Linked DNA regions of Homo sapiens: regions 1 and 2 are each linked to region 3. Evidence: promoter capture Hi-C in human tissues and cell types (Jung and others, 2019). All regions are on one chromosome and are shown on one strand. Each heading gives the region's core, a stretch centred on a gene start or on the middle of the fragment in contact. The rest is flanking DNA. Distances are from core to core; before and after follow the strand shown. Region 1 overlaps CHP2 (calcineurin like EF-hand protein 2). Region 2 overlaps DCTN5 (dynactin subunit 5). Region 3 holds the start of ERN2 (endoplasmic reticulum to nucleus signaling 2).

The links. The method cuts DNA at HindIII sites, captures the fragments that hold promoters and counts their contacts. A contact is called where the count stands out against the background at its distance.
Region 1: a fragment that was not itself captured here is called in contact with the fragment with the promoter of ERN2 in region 3 in 3 of the 25 tissues and cell types used here (aorta, spleen and stomach).
Region 2: a contact is called between a fragment that was not itself captured here and the fragment with the promoter of ERN2 in region 3, in 1 of the 25 tissues and cell types used here (small bowel).

Annotation. Positions count from the first base shown.
Region 1 is chr16:23,757,359-23,760,112 of GRCh38, forward strand. It overlaps CHP2 (calcineurin like EF-hand protein 2), which reads left to right. Exons shown (of 7, transcript NM_022097.4): 7 at 172-1,577. The coding sequence ends at 225. Among named protein-coding and RNA genes, the nearest start is that of CHP2, 3.7 kb to the left of the region's middle. The HindIII fragment of the contact is 3,201 bases long and covers 1-2,754 here.
Region 2 is chr16:23,653,745-23,656,444 of GRCh38, forward strand. The region is part of intron 2 of DCTN5 (dynactin subunit 5); the gene reads left to right. Among named protein-coding and RNA genes, the nearest start is that of DCTN5, 14 kb to the left of the region's middle. The HindIII fragment of the contact is 3,291 bases long and covers 1-2,700 here.
Region 3 is chr16:23,711,945-23,714,644 of GRCh38, forward strand. ERN2 (endoplasmic reticulum to nucleus signaling 2) reads right to left here and starts at 1,278. Exons shown (of 22, transcript NM_033266.4): 1 at 1,151-1,278. The coding sequence starts at 1,243. The HindIII fragment of the contact is 19,919 bases long and covers 1-2,700 here.

The sequences.
Region 1 (2,754 bases), core at 28-2,527, 45 kb after region 3:
AGGAGTTCTGGGGCAGACAGACTTGGGAAACGTTCAACGGAGGAGGGCGGAAAGATAGGGGTTGCCTGGGAATGATGGGGTCTCTGGAATGGGTAGAACCCTGGGGGAGGAGGTTGGGAGCATGGAGAGCTGAGAGTCAAGCCTCTTGCCTGCCATTTGTTTTTCCCTCAGTCCTTAGAGAAGATGGACGTTGAGCAAAAAATGAGCATCCGGATCCTGAAGTGACTCCGTTTGTGCCTTGGGCTTGCTCCTGCAACCAGTATCTCCTTGGAATTCATCCAAAGCCCCCATGGACGCATGGACGCAGGGCGACAATAAACTGTATTTTCGTTTCTAACTCTATTTAGGGCCAAGAGAAGAAAGCTGGAAGGATGTGTACTAAAGTCTAGCTCAGCAGTCCCCAACCTTTTTGGCATCAGGGACAGTTTTTCCACGGATGGGTGACAGGGGATGGTTTTGGGATGATTCAAGTGCATTACATTTATTGTGCACTTTATTTCTATTATGATTACATTGTAATATATAATGAAATAATTATACAACTCACCATAATGTAGAATCAGCAGGAGCCCTGAGCTTGTTTTCCTGCAATTAGACGGTCCCATATGGGAGTGATGGGAGACAGTGACAGATCATCAGGCATTAGATTCTCATAAGGAGTGCACAATCTAGATCCTTTGGTGTGCAGTTCACAGTAGGATTTGGGCTCCTATGATAATCTAATGCCACTGCTGATCTGACAGGAGGCAGAGCTCAGGCGGTAATGCAAGCAATGGGGAGTGGCTGTAAATATAGATGAAGCTTCAGCTCGCCTGCCGCTCACCTTGTGCTGTGCAGCCCGGTTCCTAACAGACCACAGACCCCACACCAGGTCTATCTCATTTGGTCTCAGAGCTGTGAATCAGCCAGCAATATTTTAGTTGCAAATCACTGAAAACCCAACTCAAAGTGACTTAAGTCAGAAAGAAATTTTATGAATTCAGGTAATTAAAAAGTCCAGAAGTATCTGCCTTTAGGCACAGCTGGATCCAAGGGCACAAATGATGTCATCAGGCTCCAGTTATTCTCCATCTCCCAGCTCAGCTTTTTCTGTCTGTAAGCCTGATTTTCAGGAAGGCTCTTTCCTAGTGATGGAGATGACCACCATCAGCTCCAGGCTTCTATCCTGCTAACCCAGTAACCCAGTGGGAAGAGATTTACTTATTCCAATAATTCCAAGTGGAGAGTGTCATTGACCCGTTTGGGGTCTCATCTCTACTTCTAGGGGAATGAAACACTCTGAGTGGCCAGGCCTGTGTCATGTGCTAATTCCTAGAGCCAGGGAAATAAGGTCTGAGGATTCAGGATGGGGTGAAAGGTGGTTGCTTAAAGGAAAATGAAATACAATTAGCAGAATAAGGGGAAACGAGTGGTCTGCTCTGCTCGGGCAAAACAAGAGATGCCCATTACTGTGAGGGACCCTTGAAGTCTGGACTCTTAAATGGGTTTTTGCTGATTTCCTGGGTGCATGCTAGGATGATGGGGCTTGATGCAGTAGGGAAGAGACGATGTAAAAATAATAAACAATATATACCTTCCTAGAGTGTGAATGCATTCGAAGATTCTAAGAGTAAGCTTGTTTTCATGGTAAGATGTTCAAACATTGATATAAGATGGAATGGAGCAGGAAGTCCCATAAAACTATGAGACTCTATGTCTGCAGCAGAGCTCTCTGGTTGCACCTGTGGGAGACACTGTAATTGCCCTGCTGTTTTTCTCCCTCCCAGAGCTGGTCTTTGGTTGTCTTGTATCATCAACACATGAGAACCAGTTGTGCTCATAACATCTCAACTCTGCTTTCAATGATATGTTAGCAGCTTGAAACTGGCTATAGCAGGAATATTTACACCACAGACATTGGTAACTGCAACAGGTTAAGGCTTTTTCCTCCTGGAAAGCCAGTTGTTAAACATTTATCTGCACACTACCTGCTAGACATTTCCCATTACTTTGCATGCCAATGGTTTCTTTCCTTTTTTCTCCCTTCTTTCTTTCTTTCTTTCTTTCTTTCTTTCTTTCTTTCTTTTTCTTTCTTTCTTTTCTTATCTTTCTTTCCTTTTTTTTTTTTTTTTTTTTTGAGACAGGGTCTAGCTTTGTCACCCAGGCTGGAGTGCAGTGGCAGTCTTGGCTCACTGCAACCTCTGCCTCTCGGGCTCAAGCAATGCTCCCACCTCAGCCTCTTGAGTAGCTTGGACTACAGGCACATGCCACCATGCCTAGCTAATTTTTTTTTTAAAAAGAGGTGGGGTTTCACCATGTTGCCCAGGCTAGTCTTGAACTCCTAGACTCAAGTGATTCACCCACCTCGGCCTCCCAAAGTGCTGGGATTATAGGCATGGGCCACTGCACCCAGCCTTACATGCTAGTGGCTTCTTTTTGCAAGCACTGTGATGCCTTGCTCCAGGGCTTTGCACATATTCAGCCTGTATAAAGGGCAGGGTGGAAGTGCCAGGATTTAATGACATTAGGAGTAGCTCTCAACTAGTGACAGATGGAAATTGGTTGGATAAATACCCATTACTTCATCATTCAGGTGGCACAATTTAGATACATGTTTTCTTAATTTTCATAGCAATTTCCAGCAGATTTGAGCCCCCATTGCTCACAGGGTTAATTCATTTGCTTGTTAAATCACCCTGTCCTGGCCGGGGGCAGTGGCTCAGGCCTGTAATCCCAGCACTTTGGGAAGTCAAGGTGGGCAGATCACCTGAGGTC
Region 2 (2,700 bases), core at 54-2,553, 58 kb before region 3:
ATTAACAGGGTAAACAGACATCCTACAGAATGGGAGAAAATTTTTGCAAACTATGCATCTGACAAAGGTCTAATATCCAGCATCTAAAGGAATTAAACAAATTTACAAGTAGAAAACAACCCCATTTAAAAAGTGGGCAAAGGACATGAACAGACACTTTTCAAAAGAAGAAATACAATAATCATGACAAAAAGCTCAACATCACTGATCATTAGAGAAGTGCAAATCAAAACCACGAGATACCGTCTCACACCAGTCAGAATAGCTGTTATTAAAAAGTCAGAAAATAACAGATGCTGGTGAGGTTGTGAAGAAAAAGGAACACTTACATACTGTTAGTGGGAGTGTAACCATTGTGGAAGACAGTGTGGTGATTCCTCAGAGACCTAAAGACAGAAATACCATTTGACCCAGCAATCCCATTACTGGATATATACCCAAAAGAATATAAATCATTCTATTATAAAGACATGTGCACACATATATTCATTGCAACACTGTTCACAATAGCAAAGACATGGAATCAACCTAAATGCTTATCAGTGATAGACTGGATAAAGAAAATGTGGTACAGGTACACCATGAAATACAATGCAGCCATAAAAAAGAATGAGATCATATTTTTTGCAGGGACATGGATGGAGCTGGAGGCTAAATGATGAGAACACATGGACACATAGAGGGGAACAACACACACTGGGGCCTATGGGAGCGGGGAGTTGGGAGGGTGCAGGAGGGAAAGGATCGGGAAAAATAATGGGTACTAGGCTTAATACCTGGGTGATGAAATAATGTGTACAACAAACCTCCATGACACAAGTTTACCTATGTAACAAACCTGCATATGTACCCCTGAACTTAAAAGTTTAAAAAAAATTATTTCCTTCTAGCTGTTTTGAAATACATAATAGATTACTGTAAACTGTAGTCACCCTACTGACCTATCAAATTCTAGGTCTTATTTCTTCTATCAAGCTGTATATTTGTGCCCATTAATTAACCCCTCTTCCTTCCTCCTACCTTTCTTGGCCTTTGGTAACCAACAGTCTACTCTCTGTCTTGAAATCTGCTTTTTTAGTGCCCACATATGAGTGAGAACGTGTGATATATGTCTTTCTGTGCTTGGCTTATTTCATTTAATATAGTAACCTCCAGTTCCATCCATGTTGCTGCAAATGACAGGATTTCGTTCTTTTTTATGACTGAATAATATTCCATTATGTATATATACTACATTTTCTTCACTTGATCTTAGCCAAAAGGCCAAGAAGTGATATATACCACATTTTCTTTATCCTTTCGCCCATTCATGGATATCTGGGTTAGAATCATATACTCTTTTATGTCAAGCTTTTTTCACGCAGCATAATGTTTTTGAGATGTATCCATCTTGTTGCATATAGTAGCAGATTATTATTTTTTCCTTTTTATAGCTAAATATTATCATTATGGAACTTTTAAGACATGTACAAAAGTAGAGAGGATATATAAGGAATTCCCACAAACTCATTTACCAGCTTCCATAATTAGCAATATTCTGACATTTTTGCTTCATCTCTAAACTCACCTTGTAAACTCAAGTCCTAGTTTGACTAGGGTGGGGTAGGGAACGCTAGAGTTTTTTATTCTTACTTATTTATTTTTTCTTTTTCTGAGACAGAGTCTTACTCTGTTGCCCAGGCTGGAGTGCAGCAAGTGGCACTATCATAGCTCACTGTAGCCTTGATTCTTAGTGATCCTTCCGCCTCAGCCTCTGGTGTAGCTGGGACTATAGGCACGTGCCACCATGCCCTGCTTAATTTTTTTTTTTTTTTCTTGAGGCACAGTCTTGCTCTGTCACCCAGGTGGGAGTGCAGTGGTGTGATCTCAGCTTACCGCAGCCTCGACCTCCACATACTCAGACAATCCCCCCACCGCAGACTCCTGAGTAGCTGGGACTACAGGTGCACACCACCACATCTGGCTAATTTTTGTATTTTTTGCAAAGATAGGGTTTTGCCATGTTTCCCAGGCTGGTCTTGCCCTCCTGTGCTCAAGCAGTCCTCCTGCATCAGCCTCCCAAAGTACTAGAATTACAGGCATGAGCCACCATTCCCGGCTGGATGGTATTTTAAAACAAATTGCAAATGTCATATTATTTCACCCACAAATACTTCAGTGTGTCTTACTAATTCTTAAGGACTTAAAAATTCAGTAGAGGTGGGGCATGGTGGCTCACAATTGGAATCCTAGCACTTGGGAGGCTGAAGTAAGAGAATTACTTGAGGCCAGGCATTTGTGACCAGCCTGGGCAACATAGCAAGACCATGTCTCTACAAAAAATGAAAAGAAAAATTAGCCAGGTCTAGTGGCATGCACCTGTAGTCCCAGCTACCTGGAGGCTGAGGCAGAAGGATCTCTTGAGCCCAGGAGTTCAAGGTTACAGTGAGCCATGATCATGCCACTGCACTCCAGCCTGGGTGACAGAGCGAGACCCTGTCTCTATAAACAAACAAAAATGAGTAGAGTATCACTGTTATCATGTTAATATTGTAAAAACTCCAGTACTTCCTTAATACCATCTAACGCTCAGTCCATATTCAGTCTTCCCAGTATCTCAGGATATCTTTTTCCAGTTCATTTGTTCAAAGCAGAATCCAAACATGATGCTGCACACATTGTATTTGGTTGATATGTCTCTTAAGTCTCTTTTAATCTGTA
Region 3 (2,700 bases), core at 28-2,527:
GGGGGGCTGGAGCCACCCGTACTTACATCTGGCGATCCTGGGCTCACTCACCTGCTCCAGTCCCTCCTTGAGCAAACAGGGTGAGGCTGAGCTCCCAGCAGGAGGCCTAACATCCGGGTGGCCCAGCCGCACCCCTACAAAGGCCACATCCTGCTTCAGGACCCTCAGGTTTGGGGCTGGGCCACTGGTGTTGAGTGGAGGGTCAGGAAATTATCTGCTAGCCCCTCTTTCTTTCTGGGCTTCAATTTTGTCATCTGCAGCATGGCAGGAGGGAGAACGGTTTGGAGAAGAGGCTGCAGATTGGTTGCCCAGAAATGAATTTTGTTTGACCATCTAGTGCTTAAAAATTTTTCAATTAGCTGCCAATTTTTTTAAAAATTGGATGATTTCTACAAAAAAACCAAGATTTCAAATCTTTCTCATTTCTAATTTTTCCAGAGACATCCGATCTGGCCACACTGGGCTTGCATTCTTAGCTGGCAACCATGAGGTGGACCCATGAGGTGGAAGCCGGGAATGAGAGGTGCCTAACTCTACCTGATCGCTTTTGCCCCATGGGGGTTCTAGGCGGGACACCTGGATTCTTAGGCCAGGCGACTTTTGCCTCCTGGCTGCATTTCTGTAAGACTCTGCTATTCCTGGCACCGTGGGAGCAGATACTGACACTCCCAGCTCATTTATCCCATAGGTTCTGAACCTGGGGTGCAGCCATGGGTAAGGGGACCGTATTGTAAAGCCTCTGAAATTGCAAAACTGGGCGTGCAGGCTCATTTCTCAGCAGAGGGCCCTGAAGTCAATCATATTTTCAAAGGAAGCCAGGATTCCCAGAAGTTTTAAGAGGCCTGGCTTTCGTGCCCAGGTGCCCCCCTACCCCAGACTACACCTCTCCCTGCTGAAGAGGCGGGGTGCTCTGTCTACTCTTGCCTTTCCACGCTGGCAGATCTCCCCAGCTAGGTATTTGTTGGGGGCAACTGGCGGCTCCCCAAACCCAGGAGGCTTTTACTCCGTTGGGGCCGAGTTGGGACCACCCAGGCGTGAGGGAGGGAGAGGTGCCCCCGTGGCCCCGCCGCGCCCTCGCCCCAAGTGCGACGCCGCCCCCTGCGCCCCGCGACCAGACTTTGGGGACTTGGCGTCGGTCCCTGGCTCTCACCTGTGGACTCAGCGTCCCGAGCAGCAGCGCCGCGAACTGGAGCTGGAGCCCCAGCCGGGGCCACGGCCTCGACCCCCTGACCGCACTCGCCATAGCGCCTGGGCAGCTGCACGGCTGGCCAGGTCCCTGGGTGCCTCCAAGGGAGCGCTCTGTCCCCGCCCGACCCGGAGAAGGCTCCGCCCCTGGCTGGGCCTGCAACCCCAGCCTGGAGTCCTCGCCGATCCCCGCCCTTCTCATCACACTCCCAGCCGCATCCTCGCGTCCCAGTCACCCCACCAAACACGGTGGGGCGCTTTCCCGGGAGAGGGATTTTACTGAGCCCACTTATGGAGAACTTGCCACGTGCCGAGGACCGTGCCGGTTCATCATCAGTTCCTGGAGTCCTCACTGCACAGCAGGTACAAGCGGAGGCTGAGAGCCGCAGTCCCAATACAGATCCGCCTGATCTCAAAGCCTGCGCTCTTTATCATTGCACCAGCGGATCCCGGTGGGCTATCAGGAAATAGCGATTAATTGGTGAATTCAGTCGTTCGTTCAATAAATATTTATTATGGGTCAGGTAAGTGGCTCACCTCTGTAATCCCAGCACTTTGGGAGGCCTAGGAGGGAGGATCACTTGAAACCAGGAGTTGGAGACCAGCAACATAGTGAGACCCCATCTCTACAAAAAAAAATGGCCAGGTGTGGTGATGTCCACCTGTAGTTCCAGCTACTCGCGAGGCTGAGGTGGGAGGATTGCTTGAGCCAGGAAGTCAAGGCTGCAGTGAGCTATAACTGTGCCATTGCACTCCAGCCTGGGCGACAGAGAGAGACACACTCTCCAAAAATAAAATAAATAAATAAATATGCATGTATTTATTTTTTGAGACAGAGTCGATCTTGTCACCCAGGCTGGAGTGCAATGGCACTATCTTGGCTAACTGCAACCTTTGCATCCTGGGTCCAAGCAATCCTCCTCCCGAGTAGCTGGGATTAAAAATGTGGGCCAACATGCCCAGCTAATTTCTGTATTTTTAGTAGAGATGGGGCTTCACCACTTTGGCCAGGCTGGTCTCAAACTCCTGACCTCAGTTGATCCGCTCACCTCGTCCTCCCAAAGTGCTGGGATTACAGGCATAAGCCACCGCGCCCAGCCAATAAATATGCATTTATTATAAGCTATGACATGCCTGCCTGATGAACAAGATGATGAGGTCCCTGTCTTCGTAGAGCTTAGAGATTCCTATGCCTTAGATGTAAGACAACTCCGCATGGAAGGGCACCTTCTAATGGCCGTGACCACCCTTGCTCCTGGTAGATGTCTCCAGTTTTGTTCAGAGAGGGTCTGCCAGGGTCCTTGAAGGTAAGGTCCACCCTGTTTGCAAGTTTCAACTCATTCATGTCTCCTTCATCCTTGTGTAAAAATAAAAAAAAAAAAATCCCTGCTGATTTGAGGGTCATGCAGCCCAGCTCTGCCACCTTCTCCCCGTCCTCTTTGTCATCCTTGGCCCTCCTGGTCATCCCCTCACAGTTACTGAAAACTTGGTAGCTTGGCCCCTAGCCTTCATCTC